4 separate regions of the Homo sapiens genome follow, and regions 1, 3 and 4 are each linked to region 2. The links are contacts of gene promoters, found by promoter capture Hi-C in blood cells and fetal thymus (Javierre and others, 2016). All regions are on one chromosome and are shown on one strand. Each heading gives the region's core, a stretch centred on a gene start or on the middle of the fragment in contact. The rest is flanking DNA. Distances are from core to core; before and after follow the strand shown.

Region 1 (4,341 bases), core at 686-3,185, 440 kb after region 2:
ATCTCAAAAAAAAAAAAAAAAAAAAAAGCTGGGCACAGTGACTCACGCCAATAATCTTAGCACTTTAGGAGGTCAAGGTGGGCGGATCACTTGAGGTCAGGGGATCGAGACCAACCTGGCCAACATGGTGAAACCCCATCTCTACTAAAAATACAAAAATTAGCTGGGCATGGTGGTGTGTGCCTGTAATCCCAGCTACTGGTGAGGCTGAGGCATGAGGATAGCTTGAACTGGGAGGTGGAGGTTGCAGTGAGCCAAGATCATGCAACTGCACTCCAGCCTGGGCAACAAAGTGAGACTCCATCTCAAATAAATAAATAAATAAATAAATATTGAGCTAATCGATATTAACATCTACTTCTTCCATGTGGACAGCAGGGACAAGAGAGGTATAAGAGAGCTACATTCTAAGCTGGGCGCTGTGGCTCACACCTGTAATCCTGGCACTTTGGGAGGCTCAGGTGGGCGGATTGCTTGAGCCCAGGAGTTCAAGACCAGCCTGGACAACATAGACTCCATCGCTACAAAAAAAAAAAAAAAAAAAAAAAAATACGGTTGGGGGCGGTGGCTCACGCCTGTAATCCCAGCACTTTGGGAGGCTGAGGCGGGCAGATCACGAGGTCAGGAGATGGAGACCATCCTGGCTAACACAGTGAAACCCCGTCTCTACTGAAAATACAAAAAAAATCACCCGGGCATGGTGGTGGGTGCCTGTAGTCCCAGCTACTCAAGCAGGAGAATGGCGTGAATCCGGGAGGTGGAGCTTGCAGTCAACCGAGACCGCGCCACTGCACTCCAGCCTGGGCGACACAGTGAGACTCCGTCTCAAAAAATAAAAAAATAAAAACAAAAATTAGCAGGGTGCAGTGGTGCACGCCTGTAATCCCAGCTACTGAGGAGGCTGAGGCAAGGAGGATTGCTTGAGTCCAGGAGGCGGAGGTTGCAGTGAGCCAAGATCACGCCACTGGACTCCAGCCTGGGTGACAGTGTGAGACTCTTAAAAAAGAAAAAAAAAAAAGAGAGAGCACCACATTCTAATCTCCCATAGCGTGAAGTTAATAAACAAATGTTTCAACTGAAAAAATTAACGAAGAGCAGCACAAATGTGTTATTTAGAAATATGGAGACAAACAGAGAAGAAACAGCTGTGAGATTTGAAACAGACTGTCTCTAGACAGGAGTCAGAGGCCAAAGAAAAGTGAGGCAGGAGAATGCTGTTTTGTTTTTAAGGACACACCTCGCAAAAATATTCAACTTTTAAAACTACGTACCGGACAAATGGAGCAACAGAGACCAGGTTCACCCTAACACCTAACATAACCCCCTCCCCCCACCAGAAAGGGAGAAAATACGTGAGACGCATGGTTTTCAATGAGGGGTAGCGCCTGCTGTGCACAGGAAAGCGAGCGAGTGGGTCTGCACCAGCTCAGTGCCTCAAGGGCTTAGGGGGCCTGCCAGAACCCGAGGTGCAGAAATGGGGGCCGAGAGTCTGGGGAGATCGCCGTCTAGCTGGCCGGACAGAGTAGCAGAGAAGAGAGGGCTGTACACAGAGAACTCCAGAAATGGGTGGCAGGTTTCCTGGGTAGTCAGCAGAGTCCTGGTTGGCCCGTGTGTGTGTGTGGACACGATCTGAGGCCAGGGTGAGAATCATCTGAGAAGGCCAGAGGGAACCATGCCTGTGTTTACAGCAAGCTTGAAATAGTACCTGTTTCTACCAGTCAGATGGGAAAAATTCATATTCATGGGGCACGAGGTAGAACAGTCTGTCAGGTCTCGATTCAGTATTGGGAATAACTACACCTAGACTAAATGCAGCTCTCTGATTCTCTAATAAATCTTAAAAGCAACACACCAAAAGATCAAACTGTCTCCAAGTTAACTGTATCCCTGAAAAAAGCTCAAGAATAATTACAGGATTACAAAAGTTTCTAGCACCCAACGAGGTACGAATCCCAATGTCTGGCATTCGGTCCGAGGGCCAGGCATGAAAAGCAGCAGGAAAATATGATCCATGATCGGAGAGGCCGGGATCAACTGACGGAAACAAATCCGGACCTAACACAGACACCAGAATCCACAGACAAGGACCTTACAACAAATACTGTCATTGTGCTCTGTATGTCCCAAAAATTAAGCAGAGATGTAGATGAGTTTTTAAAGACCCAAAATCAAGCTTCTAGGGATAAAAACTATACTATCTGAGAAGAAAAATACACTCAATGGGATTAACAGCAGATTAGGCACTGCCTGAGAAACCATTAGTGAACTTGAACGGCTAGCAATAGAAAGTATACACAATGGCCAGGCACAGTAGCTTATGCCTGTAATTCAGCCTTTTGAGAGGCTAAGGCAGGAGGATTGAGGCCAGGAGTTTGAGACCAGCCTGGGCAACAAAGTGAGACCCCGCCCCTACAAATAAAAAGAAAAGAAATGAGCCGGGCGTGGTGGCACTGCCGTCCCAGCCCCAGTCCAGGCAGTCCACAGGCAGGCCCGGCACTCCACCTCCCAGACTACAGGTGCAGCCTGCAGTCCCAACTACTTGGGAGGCTGAGGCAGGAGGATTGCTGGAGGCCAGGAATTCAAGACCAGTGTGGGCAACATGGCAGGACTCCATGTCCACAAAAAATAAAATTAGGCCAATTATGGTGGCTCACGCCTTTAACCCCAGCACTTTGGGAGGCTGAGGCGGGCAGATCATGACGTCAAGAGATGGAGACCATCCTGGCCAACATGGTGAAACCCTATCTCTACTAAAAATACAAAAATCAGCTGAGCATGGTGATGCGTGCCTGTAGCCCTAGCTACTCAGGAGGCTGAGGCAGGAGAATCGCTTGAACCTGGGAGGCGGAGGTTGCAGTGAGCCGAGATCACGCCACTGCACTCCAGCCTGGCAACAGAGTGAGACTTCGTCTCAAAAATAAATAAATAAATAAAAAACAAAATAAAATTAGCTGGGCGTGGTGGCACATGCCTGTAGTCCCAGCTACTCAGGAGGCGGAGGTGGGAGGATTGCTTGAGCCCAAGGTGTTGAGGCTGCACTGAGCCGTGAATGTACCACTGTACTCCAGCCTGGGCAACAGAGCAAGATGTTGTCTCTAGGAGAGAAAAAACAAAACAAAACAAAAAAAACGCCAAAGTGGCTATGCTAATATCAAAGCAGACTTCAAAGCACAGAATTTCCCAGGGATAAAATCATTTCATAATAATAAGAGTCAACTCATCAAGTGGACACAAGAATTCTAAATTATATAGATATTTAATAATACAGCTTTGAAATACATGAAGCAAAAACTAATAGAACTGCAGAGAGACAGAGAAACTTACAATTATTACAGTTAGAGATTTCAATATCCCTCTCAGTAAATGACAGAACAAGTAAACAGAAAAACAGTAAAGATATAGAAAAACTGAATAACACAATTTACCGACTCGACCTAATTGACATTTGTAAGACTCTGCCCAACAACAGAATACACATTCTTTTCAAGTACACACAGAATTTACCAAGAGAGACCATAATCTGGACATAAAATAAGACTCAAGGCTGGGGAAGGTGGGTCACTCCTGTAATCCCAGCACTTTGGGAGGCCAAGGCAGGCAGATCATCCGAGGTCAGGAGTTTGACACCAGCCTGGCTAACACGGCAAAACCCTGTCTTTACTAAAAATACAAAAATTAGCCAGGCATGGTGGCAGGCACCTGTAGTCCTAGCTACCTGGGAGGCTGAGATAGGAGAATCGCTTGAACCTGGGAGGTGGAGATTGCAGTGAGCCAAGATCATGCCACTGCACTCCAGCCTGGGTGAAAGAGTGAGTCTCTGTCTCAAAAAAAAAAAAAAAATAAAATAAAAATAAATAAATAAAATAAAACAAAATAAGACAATACATTTAACAGGATTCAAGTCATACAAAGTATGTTGTTTGATCATACTAGAATTAAATTAGATATCAAGAACAAGATCTCTAGAAAATACCCACATTTGGCTGGCACGATGGCTCATGTCTGTAATTCCAGCACTTTGGGAGGCTGAGGCACGCAGATCACTTGAGGGCAGGAGTTCAAGACCAGCCTGGCCAACATGGCAAAACCGCGTCTCTACTAAAAATATAAAAAATTAGCCAGGCATGGTGGCACACACCAATAGTCCCAGCTACTCAGGAGGCTGATGTGGGAGGATCGCTTGAACCCGGGAGGCGGAGGCTGCAGTGAGCCGAGATTGTGCCACTGCACTCTAGCCTGGGTGACAGAGCAAGACTCTGTCTCAAAAAAAAAAAGAAAAAGAGAGACCAGAACCCAAGATGGCTGCGCTGTTGCTGAGACACGTTGGTCGTCATTGCCTCC
Region 2 (4,084 bases), core at 1,254-3,753:
CTGGAGTGCAGTGGAGCAATCTCGGCTCGCTGCAACCTCTGCCTCCCAGGTTCAAGCAGTTCTCCTGCCTGAGCGTCCCAAGTAGCTGGGACTACAGGTGCCCGCCACCACACCCAGCTAATTTTTTTGTATTTTAGTAGAGATGGGGTTTCATCTTGCCCAAGCTGGTTGGGAACTCCTGAGCTCAGGCAATCTGCCCACCTCGGCCTCCCAAAGTGCTGGGATTACAGGCGTGAGCCACCGCGCCCGGCCAACTTGTACAATTTTTACTTTTAGAAACTGAATTCAAGGCTGGGCGCGGTGGCTCACGCCTGTAATCCCAGCACTTTAGGAGGTTGAGGCGGGTGGATCACCTGAGGTCAGGAGTTCGAGACCAGACTGGTCAACATGGTGAAACCCCATCTCTACTAAAAATACAAAAAATTAGCTGGGCATGGTGGTGGGCGCCTGTAATACCAGCTACTCAGGAGGCTGAGGCAAGAGAATTGCTTGAAACCAGGAGGCAGGTTGCAGTGAGCCAAGATTGTGCCACTGCACTCCAGCCTGGGCAACAAGAGTGAAACTCCGTCTCAAAAAAAACGAAAAACAAAAAATCTCAGCAGCTTTCATTGTGATACTGACTTAAATATGGTTGTCTTTCTTGTCATTTCTTTTTACCTGGTATTTCATGAATTCTTTAAATCTGATAATTCAAAAATTTCCACCAACGTAGTAAATTTTCTTCTACTATTTGATTATTGCTCTTCTGCAGTCAGCTGTATTATCCCCTTCTGGAACTCGTATTTAATTATTAATTTTTTGTACCCCTTCTCCATGTCTCCTATCTTTGTCTCTCAGTTTTTATCTATTACCTTTTCCTTCTGAGTTCTGGTAAATTTTCTTGAACTGGTTTAACTTTTGGCATATCTAATCTGCAGTTCACTGACACTGTTGCATTAAATGGGTGGTGCCATTTGTCCTAAGAAAGTTTTCTTGTTTTCCATTATTTTTCCAGCTGAAAAAAGAAATCATGCAATGGCCTCTCAAATTTCAATATGAAACAGATTATTTTTTAACGCTTCTTCCTATTTCTCTCAAATCTGGTGGCAAAGGCTGTCTTCTGCTCTGACCACTCAAATGGTTCCTCTTCTGAACTGTTGGATCTTTTCACCCATCATCTACTGACTTTCTTCTTATGCTTAACCTTCCGGTGACAAAGTGTCACGTAAAAGGAACTGAAGGAGTTCTGTCAGAGGTTGTGGCAATCCCTTCGGCTCAGACTAAGGAATAATTGGTAACTATTCTGTGATGGGTGTGGGGTAAAAGCCTATGGGGCTGTGGAGGGGCAACAGGTGGAGGCAGGAGGCCTTGGGGAAGGGAGCTTCACCTCTGTACAGTTCTCCAAAAAAAGATTCAAGTACCAGCCTTCTGGTATAGTTCAATTTTAAAGATGGGAAATTAAAAAGTCAACCTGAGATCCACAGCAGTAATTTTTTTCAAGAATCCATAGTGACACAGAAATTCCCAAATTGACTTTTTTTTTTTTTTGAGGCGGAGTCTCGCTCTGTTGGAGACTCCCGGGCTGGAGTGCAGTGGCGCGATCTCGGCTCACTGCAGTCTCCGCCTCCCGGGTTCAAGCGATCCGCCCGTCTCAGCGTTCCGAGTCGCCGGGATTACAGGTCCCAAATGGACTTATATGCCTCCTGATGTACTTCCTTCCACACGATTCCAACTATATCGTATCTAGTTTTTAAAAGTCAGGGGGCGGCCGGGCGCGGTGGCTCACGCCTGTAATCCCAGCACTTTGGGAGGCCGACGCGGGTGGATCACCTGAGGTCAGGAGTTCGAGACCAGCCTAGTGAAACCCCGTCTCTACAAAAAATACAAAAATTAGCCGGGCTTGGTGGCGTGCACCTGTAATCCCAGCTACTAGGGAGGCTGAGGCAGGAGAATCGCTTGAATCCAGGAGGCAGAGGTTGCAGTGAGCCGAGACCGCGCCACTGCACTCCAGCCCGGGAGTCTCCAACAGAGCGAGACTCCAACTAAAAAAAAAAGGGAATAGTAACAACTACTCTTAGCAGATCTTCAAGGTCCCAAGTAATGGCCCGCGGCGCTAGGCCGGGCCTGTGGCGGGAGAGCCTGGCCTAAGGTGTCCAGAGGAGCCCAGGCTGAGGGGTGTCTCTGTCAACCCGAGTCCCAGACTAGCAGTGTCCTTGGTGTCCACGACAACAGCAACGGCAGCCACCGCCGCAAACGCCCGCCTGGCCTGGCACGGCCCGGCCTCGCCTCACCTCAGCTCACCGGCGCCGCGCCTCCAGCTCCAGCCTCCGCGCGCCTCCCCGGCCGCACCTCTGCGCACGCGCAGCGCCCGCCCGCCCCACCCAGGCTCTCGCTCCGGTCCCGCCCCTCTGGAACCGGCGGCGGGCGCTTTTCCTCCCAGCGCGGCCACCGTCGTTCGGAAAGGGAGGGCGGCAGGGGGCGGGGAAAGGCCGGGAGGTGGGCGAGCGCGCGCGCCGCCCGTCTGTGGTGGTTTCCTGGCTGCGCGCGGCGGTGGCGGAGCCGCTACGGCTGTAGCAGCAGCCGCGAAGATGGCGGAAGGGCTGGAGCGTGTGCGGATCTCCGCGTCGGAGCTGCGCGGGATCCTGGCTACTCTGGCCCCGCAGGCCGGGAGCAGAGGTGAGTCGCGCCGCCCAGCTCCTGGGCCGGGCCTGCCCGCCCCGCCTCCCTCTCCTCCTCCTCTGCCTCCTCCCCGCTCGGCCCTCGGCTCCGGAGCCCCCGCCCCTTCCCCCAGCAGTAGGCGCTGGGGCCGCGGCGGACCCTCGCTGCCCTACCTCTCTCGCGGGTTAGTGCGGGGTCGGGCTCGGCCAGTCCTGGCCAGCTCCGGGAGAGCCTGGCCCGAATTCCTGCCTCCACCCTCTTTCTCGCCGCGAAGGTGACTGTTCCTTTTGCCCCAGCCCTCTCAGACCCGCCCCGGATTCCCAGGCATCGGGAGACGCGGAAAGGAGTGGGGTCTGGTGGAGGCCCCGGGCGTATCGCTCTCCAGGCCGCCCTCCGCGGGCCTGCCCCGGCCACCGCTTTAACGTCGGAGAGAAGGAATTGGGGAGAAAGGTTTAAGAGCCTGCGACTTCGTTGCTGAACTTTTCCCCCCCAAGACAGGCTTCCGAAAGCTGCGCCACTGGAGGGATCCGGGACCTCAGACTACTCGGGTTTGGCCCTGGCATGTGTGGGAGCAGTTTTTATTAGAGAGAATGCTCAATTTGCAAGTTAATTTCAAGTCTCCAGCCACGTCAGGAAAGTAAGAAAGATTCTAAGTGTCTCACCTCTCCTGCGTTAGGCAATAGAGTTGTGTAGAATGGTAGCTGTGATAGGTGCCTTCTCTAGGTTTGCGGCCAGTCTGTGAAATTGGTTTTTGTTGATTAACATAATTGGATTATTAAGGCTATTTTCTCCCGCTGCTCTAGAAAGTAGTAGGAATAGCTTTCCCCATCCCCCCGCCCCCCACCAAGTTACAGACTGCCGAGGGTGAGCTATTCTTGGGTTAAACTGCTTTATCTTTGTGGATACTTCATGAACCTACCTTTTAAACTTATGAAAATAGTGAAGCACTATCCAAAACCTCAGTCTCTTTTCTTCCCCTTTTCCTTACACCTACAAACAGTAAATGTACTTGCTGGAGCATATGATTCCTGTTTTGGGCTTGTTTCCATTTATATTTAGAGAGCAATACTAGGATTAAAAACTTTTTTATTGTTGTTATTATTATTTTTTGAGACGGAGTCTAGCTCTGTCGCCCAGGCTGGAGTGCAGTGGCGCGATCTCTGCTCACTGCAACCTCCGCCTCCCGGGTTCACGCCATTCTCCTACCTCAGCCTCCCCAGTAGCTTGGACTGTAGGCGTGTGCCACCACGCCTGGCTAATTTTTTGTATTTTTGTAGTGACGGGGTTTCTCCGTGTTGGCCAGGATGGTCTGGACTCCTGTCCTCGTGATCCGCCCGCCTTGGCCTCCCAAAGTGCTGGGATTACAGGCGTGAGCCACCGTGCCCGGCCAATTTTTTTGAGGCAGGGTCTCACTCTGTCTTCCAGGCTGGAGTGCAGTGGAGGGATC
Region 3 (3,879 bases), core at 1,131-3,630, 420 kb after region 2:
AAACTGGGAAAGTCAACAACCCGTAAGCTATAAAGTGGCCGTCTGGGGTAGTCCTTTAATCTGCTAATGCTCATTCTCAGGCAGCAGCTGCGTGGTGATCATCACCGAAATGTACCAGTGTGGAAACGGACAGCCAATATACCGTGGTAGCAAAAGTGTTTCCATAAAAGGCCTCCTATGCCTGATACAGAAGCCAAAAGTGGTTTTTTTGTTTTGAGACAGAGTCTTGCTTTGTCACCCAGGATGGAGTGTGGTGGTACCAACTTGGCTCGCTGCAACCTCCACCTCCTGGCAAGTGATTCTCGTGCCTCAGCCTCCCGAGTAGCTGGGACTACAGGCACGCACCGAGTAGCTGGGACTACAGGCCCGGCTGATTTTTGTATTTTTTGTAGAGACGAGGTTTCACCATGTTGGCCAGGCTGGTCTTGAACTCCTGGCCTCAAGCAATTGTCCACCTCGGCCTCCCAAAGTGCTGGAATTAAGGTATGAGCCACCGTGCCTGGCCCAAAAGATTTTATAAACCAGAGCAACTTATCAGAAGGCATTATCTTTTTTCTTGTAGATTTACCTTCTTAGTGAAATTTTACTTTTGCTAATATCGAAGCTAAATTAATTTGTATTAAATTATTATGAAAACTGATTGTACTTCTTGATCACACATCAATTGATATGAAGGAAAAGGGGCCAAGGAGAAAGTGGCTCGGGAACACAGTGGTGGCGGAGAGGAGCTGGCCGGAGATGAAAGGCCAAATACCATCCCAAGGTGGGTAACCACACAAAGAACAGGTTCCTTAAACAGAGACCATCTAACAGAATGGATGTTACCCTGAGCTGCAGACAGCTGCCTTCTCCTGTCAGGTAAGCGGCTAAATCCCTCACAGGGGCACAGCAAGGCCCATCCATCTGTTTCACCACTACTAGCTACACAAGTTCACGGTTTCAAAAGCTCCAAGGAGACATTTGCCACCAAAGATCACTCGTCAGGAGTCAAGGCGGCCCTTCTTACAATAAAAACTCTGCATTGTTATAGCCAAGATCTAAACATCTCTAATCCTTGTCCAGGTATCATGTATGCACTGAGCTTGTCTTTGATCAATGCCAAGTTATTTTATTCTGGGGACAGCCGTGCTTTTTATGTTGACTGGGATCATGATTATTGACAAGTAAAAGATGAAGACATTAATGTGGGAATGCAATTTTAATGTGGGAATGCGATTTTAATGTGGGAATGCAATTAACCTGGAGTCGAACTCCAGAGCCTAAAAGAAAATCAAGCAATAAGAAAAAAGCAAATCTGTGGCTAGTTCTGGTCAGACTATGAACGGGCCCTGCAGTTCGGCAGATACGTGTGGACCGTACTACTCATGAGGATGGCTCAGTGACATGAACATTCCAGAAGATGCTTCATGAAACTGGTCAAACACCAGTGCCATTGGTTTAAATGACTCAAAACAAAGGAGGAGTATGTAAAATGAGCTCATTCTTTAGCTGCTTAAATCCTAAGACACAGCTGGAAACTGACACACTTCCCCCCCATAGACTACAGCTATGGGAATTATTGAAGCTTGGGTGAAAGTGTTTTCCCTGACCACATCAATTCTTGCATCCTGTGTCTCAGTTTGAAGTACTCTTTTAAGACAGAGTTTGAATGTCCTAAAAAGCTAGATACAGTGAGGAGATTTTAACAGGCTCTCCTCATCCCTTGAGTGCTTTGGGAATAACAATCTAATCCTAACAAAAAGCCCATTGTTCTCACCACACTTGATCAGAGTCTAGTGAATACACACTAGAAGATGTGATCGGCACCAAAGACTTGACAGAGAAAGAAAGCATGTGTTCCCCCACGCCACAGAGGCCCAGAGCCTAAACCCTGGAAAGAAAGGCGCCTTCAGCACACCGCTGCTGAAGCCTGGCCGTCCCCTCCTTTGGCAGGATCGAGGTCAGCAGGCAGCACTTACATGCTAATTGCCTCCTCCGACTCTCTAGGTTTGTCCTGGGATTACAGGTTTGTCCGTTTAAGGGCTTTAAAGCCCTCCTCACAGAAGGCATAATGCCTTCAAGAAACACGGAAGCTGCACCACTCAGGGACGAAGGCTTCTGCTTGGCAGAAAGCTCCCATGCTGATTGTAACCAGCTTTTCTCAAAGCCCAGCCTCAAGTAACCCTTTGTTTAGCCCCACAAAACCTACCATCCACGAAGCTTATAGGCCTCTGGGATGTCAGGATTCGCAATGATAGTGCTTGAAGACAGCACGGAGAGGCTCCGTCCACCGAAATCAGAGACTCGGGCTCCTTTGATAGCCAACACGGGCTGTCTAGAACCATCAAATTTATCAGCCTGTAAAAGAAACACCAGACATATACAAGTGTCACTAGCAGGAAGAACACAGAAGATTTTTATAGAAAACAAGGCAAACATTCAATAGTAGAGTGAATGTAATCAGCGTACATGGAATCCATACAAGACAGACCTCACACATGAGAATCTACTCAGAGACACATCAAAACTATCACTGCTTTCCTAGAGTTAGGGGAAAGAGCATTTCCCCGCGTAAAGCTTGAATCACAGCAAATCTCACAGAAGTAAGATAAAGGATTTTAAATACTTACCAGACAGCACAATCCTTCCCATCTACATGGTGAAAGCCCCCAACTCATAGGACAAAACCGCCCCCACGAGGAGCTCCTCCTGTGTGTGCTAACAGCCCCATCCTATAGGACAAGACGCCCCCTCCGCCAACCCCAGGAGCTCCTCCTGTGTGTGCTGAAGGCCCCATCCTATAGGACAAGACCCCTCCCTCCCCCAACCCCAGGAGCTCCTCCTGTGTGTGCTGAAGGCCCCATCCTATAGGAACAGACGCCCCCTCCGCCAGCTCCAGGAGCTCCTCCTGTGTGTGCTGAAGGCCCCATCCTATAGGACAAGACCCCTCCCTCCCTCAACTCCAGGAGCTCCTCCTGTGTGTGCTGAAGGCCCCATCCTATAGGACAAGATGCCCCCTCCGCCAACTCCTGGAGCTCCTCCTGTGTGTGCTGAAGGCCCCATCCTATAGGATAAGACCACTCCCTCCCCCAACTCCAGGAGCTCCTCCTGTGTGTGCTGAAGGCCCCATCCTATAGGACAAGACCACGCCCCAACCCCAGGAGGTCCTGTGCGTGTTGAAGACCCCATCCCAGCACTTACATCTTCCCCCCACAGTGTAGCAGTCACCACCTTCCCGGATGTGTCCATCAAGTAGATATTCCTCTTGGCAACTTCTCTGTTGTTAGACCTCACTGTGATTTTAGTGGCGTCTTCATAGCTCTTGCAGATCCCGATGATGTCTAAAACACATGCACGTGTTAGCAGGAGGTGGTCAAGACTCCCATTCCGACGCCAGCAAATGATGAACGGCAAGCACTGAAGCCTGACACCACCCCGTACACTGCAAAGAAAGCTAGTCATCCCTGCTCTTCCTTCTCATACACGAGCTTACCTACAAGTGAGTCTTTCGACTTGTTCTCGAGGTCATCAATCCCCGTGAAATCAAACTGAACCGTAGGTAAATGATGGTCGTCCTCACAGGGCATGACGGAAGTCTCGTTATTGAAGGTCATCTCGTAGTCATTTTTAACAGCTGTGAACTGCTTGTTAGCAATCTTCAGGGTGCCTTTCGAGAAATAATACACCTGCGAAGGAGGCCAAGCCACAGAACCTGAGACTACCATCAAATCGGACAGAAACCCCTAGTCTGCCACCACACACCCCTCCCCTGGGCCAGCGTCTTTTCATCCGCACTCCACCCCCAGGCGGTGTCAGTTCTAAAGTCAGCACGGCCATACCTTGTTCACTTCAATAAGAGGAAAGAACTTGTCCACTTGCTCATTGAAAGCTGTAGCTCGG
Region 4 (3,998 bases), core at 1,484-3,983, 400 kb after region 2:
CCAGCAGTTCCACTGAATGACAAGCTGACGGCCCCCAATGGGCCTTCATAATACATGAGTAGACTCATTCTTCCTTGAGATGGTCAGGCTGGCCTTTGCCTCATGCAAAACTCCCAGGACATAGAAAAGCTTAACAGCCACACCTCAAAAAATTCTGTGGGCTTCATAATTCCCACCCAGAAGGGAACTGGCTCCTGCAACAATGGATCCCCAGAGCTTGGCCCCTTCCCCCATGGCCTGGGGGCACCTTCCTACAGAATACCTCCTGGAAACCTATATTTCTATTTTGGGGGACCACTCTGCTCCTGCACACGGAGAAAGGAAGAGTTGAGGTTTCCATGGTCATTTTTCGTTACAGTAATGAAAGTCTTGAAATGATCACAGAAGGAAAATTGGAAAATATGTCTCCTAAAAAGAGCTGAGGCAAATTATTATAGCAACCGAATCCTAAAAGGAATTTTCAAGTAAAAATATGGCTCATGTGAAGTTGTTATGGCAACTGACATTTAAAAGTAACTGGATTTGGGCAAGTTTCTTTCCCCACCCTCTCTGCAAAGTCTTGCAGTAACTTCATGCTAAAATTATGCCTTAATTTTAATTAGCCAAATAGGTCATAAATATAGCATATTCCCAAATCCTTACAATTTCTACCCTGTGAGCAGCTGATCTACTAATGAGAAACTGTTTCTACAAAAACCCACTTACCATTAACACGCCTATGCAATATTTTTCTAATATAATTTATCAATTTAAACACATTGCATAATGTGATATTCTGTAGCATTCTATTAACATGATAAATAGCAGTGGGCGGGGGGGAAGCCCAAGAGATTAAACATATTGCAAGCAATGTAACTGCATTTAAATAACTCAGACCACTGCCGAGGAAAACACACTGTTCCCATCGTCAAATACAGTCTAAACTCGGCTGCATATCCCAGACTGTACGGGTATTAATAGGACGGGAGAAGGGGGGCAATAAGAAATGACAGGCAACTTCAAAGAAATAAAATTTCTATTAGGCTTTGTTATAAGATTACATCAAAGCAGTTCATATGTTTTAATCTGGGGAGAGAAGAAGCAGCTACTTGGGGTTTGCGCCTGGGGGCTGCCTCTGTGTACTGAACCAGACAGTTTGCATAATGAACAATTTTCATTCAACCAGGATTTCAGCACAGATAGCTCCCTCTGCAAGGTCCCAGGCACAGGCTCATAGTTTTTATTCTCCCAGCTCCACCTGCTGGAGAAACAGCTTGTAACCGGGAGGAAGGGGACACAGGGCAGCGTTTCTAAGCCACGATGCTAAATTCGGGTGTCTGAAGTTAGGGATCTGACTTTAGACACCCCGACCCGCCGCGCCCCGCCGACAGGGCCTCTGTGAGACACCCCAGGGCGCAGCCTGGATCCGCCCCTGCAGCCGGCAGGGAAGGCGCGGGCGGGGGGTGGGGGTCCAGGCCTGACACCTTCGCCCCTCCCAGCGCCTCCGGAATTAGGGAATTTGGAAATCGTCGTTTGCATTCTGAGTCGAACCCCAGGGAGAATGGAGTTGCTGCAAGGCAGGTCGCCTCGAGAGACTGGCGGACAAGGTGGCTGGCTTCAAACACCAAACGCGGTTCCCACCTGGCCAGTCACCTTTCAAGTTTCCCAGCCACCCGGGTCTCCAGGAAATCAAACGGGGGAGAAAAACTGCCCGCGTGGAATTGCATTTTCATGCACAATGGGAAACCTAAACGCTGAGCAGATCGTCTTGAAAACCTGGCACAGCCGACGCAGGCTTGGAGGACGGGAAGTCCCGGGCGAGCGGCTGCTCCAGGACTCGGGGCTGCGGCCTAATCCGCGCTGATCCCCGGGCTTAGCGCGCGCCCCTCCCCGGCTGAGGTCGCGGGACCCGCAGGCCCCACCTGGCTGTGTCCCCTTGGGGAGGCCGCCCGGGAGGGGAGGTGACATCAAGCCGCGTGCAACTGTTTTCGAAAACCTGGGATGATCATTTAAATGTTTAAAATATGCACATGGTAATTCAAAACTAATTACCCTGAGCACATTTGAAACATTTATGCCATCGTCTCTGGATCCTGCCTACTGATTGTGCGCGGCGGCTCACTCTGCTGTTTCTATAAACTGCTTCAGCGATTTTAACTTCCAGGCTAAATCCGGCAGCGCAGGCTCTGCCTCCCGCCCCTGGTTGGTGGAGAGACCCCTTTCCTGACTTCCAGGAGAGGAGGCTGCACCCCGTTTCCCTGGAGAGCCATTTGTCACGGTCTCGCAGCTCTGGCTACGGAATCCCTGCCCTCGTTGTGTTCATAATGGTCATTTCCATTATTTAATTTAGGTTAAAATGACCTCTCTCCCCACCTATTCCTTTTCTTGTTGTTTTCTCCCCATTTCCCCTTCCTCTGTCTTGGCACGTGGCCCCCATCTCCTAATGACACCCCACCCGGCCCCTTCTCCATTTGGGGGTGCGCATGGAAGGCTTTTGGGGGTTGGGGGTGCACATGGAAGGCTTTTGGGGGTTGTAAGGTGGCCACATCTACCAGCCACCCTGAGAAGCAGGACTGAACTGGGCCAACCTGGGCGAACAGCGGCCACTGCCGGGCACGTTATAGTGGCTGCCAGGGCACACACGTGCACATGCCACACACACGTGTGCACACACACCATCCACGTGCACGCATGCCTCAGACACGGAGCCAGGCCTGCTTACGGACTGGACTAATTAGACCTAGGCAGGTCCTGAAGCAAATTCACTTTCCCAATTTCCAGAATAAAATGAGTTCTCTTCCTTTGGGGGCACTAAACCAGCATGCCGGGCTCAGGGACGGAGAATGGTGATGTGTGGCTGAAACGACCTGACTTCCCAAGTCTATCCGGAGAGACTGACCGAGGGCTGGGATTGGAAGAGGCGCCATTCCGGAGTCCAGAAATTAACATAGGCTTATAAATATGTTCCAGGACACAGACGAGCGATGACTGGTTCCTTATTATGCGAAGATGCCAGTGGCAGGTTTTAGGCGTTTAGGAATACAAAAGTGGGTTAGATTCCCACGGCCGGCTCCAGTGTGATAGAGTGATATTACCAGGTTTAACTAGAGCCATTAAGAGACTCTTCATTATCCCCACACCACCGCCACCAAAGTTATCACAGAAACCATAATGCAAGAGAGAATTTCCATTCCATCAACAAGAGAGGGAGCCAGTCTATCTTTGTCCAGAGAAAATGAGCATCCCAGCACGAAGCTCGTGAGGAATAGAGTGCACAACCCTCCAATAACATGCCCGGCAGGATTTCCTCAGCTATGCAGTTGGCTAAGCGGAGGCAGGCTGCTCCGGCTCTATCTTCTCGTGTACCTGGCCTGCAAGAATGCCAGCTCTATGAGCAGCTGAAAGATCAATTAGTGACAAAGGACACTCCTAGGACTTACATTCCACAGGGCTTAAGTCTTAAGCTCCAAGGAAATGAAGATCCAGGCCGCCCTCCCAGTGTGCAGCAATCTCATTTATTTTTCTACAAAGACTCACCACTCAAACCAAGCTAATTTTCTTGGTATCACCTGCACCTGGTTTACTGGCTCCTGAGCAACGTGCCAGTCCTTCAGTTTGAAATGGACTTTTCTTCCAGCCGATCCTTTTTTTTTTTTTTTTTTTTTGAGACGGAGTTTCGCTCTTGTTGCCCAGGCTGGAGTGCAATGGCGCGATCTCGGCTCACTGCAACCTCCGTCTCCTGGGTTCAAGCGATTCTCCTGCCTCAGCCTCCCGAGTAGCTGGGATTACAGGCATGCACCACCACCCCGGCTAATTTTGTATTTTTAGCAGAGACGGGGTTTCTCCATGTTGGTCAGGCTGGTCTTGTACTCCCGACCTCAGGTGATCCACCCACCTCGGCCTCCCAAAGTGCTGGGATTACAGGCGTGAGCTACTGCGCCCGGCCAGCCAATCCCTTTTTTGCAACTTCACGATGACAACTCATAGGTTTTTTGTCTGCCTCCACCAGACTGTCCGCT

The links. Contacts are between HindIII fragments. The CHiCAGO score rates a contact against its expected background, and 5 or more counts as called.
Region 1: a contact is called between a fragment that was not itself captured here and the fragment with the promoter of SMG6 in region 2, in 6 of 17 cell types (M1 macrophages, endothelial precursors, M2 macrophages and 3 more). The highest score is 8.7, in M1 macrophages.
Region 3: a fragment that was not itself captured here is called in contact with the fragment with the promoter of SMG6 in region 2 in 3 of 17 cell types (endothelial precursors, M1 macrophages and M2 macrophages); the score reaches 11.1 in endothelial precursors.
Region 4: a fragment that was not itself captured here is called in contact with the fragment with the promoter of SMG6 in region 2 in 4 of 17 cell types (M1 macrophages, M0 macrophages, endothelial precursors and 1 more); the score reaches 7.4 in M1 macrophages.

Annotation. Positions count from the first base shown.
Region 1 is chr17:1,858,404-1,862,744 of GRCh38, reverse strand. The region is part of intron 5 of RPA1 (replication protein A1); the gene reads right to left. It also overlaps the pseudogene SDHCP5. Among named protein-coding and RNA genes, the nearest start is that of RPA1, 31 kb to the right of the region's middle. The HindIII fragment of the contact is 481 bases long and covers 1,695-2,175 here.
Region 2 is chr17:2,302,204-2,306,287 of GRCh38, reverse strand. SMG6 (SMG6 nonsense mediated mRNA decay factor) reads left to right here and starts at 2,503. Exons shown (of 19, transcript NM_017575.5): 1 at 2,503-2,655. The coding sequence starts at 2,568. SRR (serine racemase) reads right to left here and starts at 2,338. Exons shown (of 8, transcript NM_021947.3): 1 at 2,271-2,338. RefSeq lists silencers at 2,254-2,473, 2,664-2,873 and enhancers at 2,375-3,101, 3,431-4,084. The HindIII fragment of the contact is 10,069 bases long and covers 1-4,084 here.
Region 3 is chr17:1,879,001-1,882,879 of GRCh38, reverse strand. It overlaps RPA1 (replication protein A1), which reads right to left. Exons shown (of 17, transcript NM_002945.5): 9 at 3,819-3,879; 10 at 3,473-3,665; 11 at 3,181-3,320; 12 at 2,189-2,337. Among named protein-coding and RNA genes, the nearest start is that of RPA1, 51 kb to the right of the region's middle. The HindIII fragment of the contact is 357 bases long and covers 2,202-2,558 here.
Region 4 is chr17:1,906,152-1,910,149 of GRCh38, reverse strand. No RefSeq gene overlaps it. Among named protein-coding and RNA genes, the nearest start is that of RPA1, 78 kb to the right of the region's middle. RefSeq lists enhancers at 1,974-2,481, 2,482-2,990. The HindIII fragment of the contact is 5,203 bases long and covers 132-3,998 here.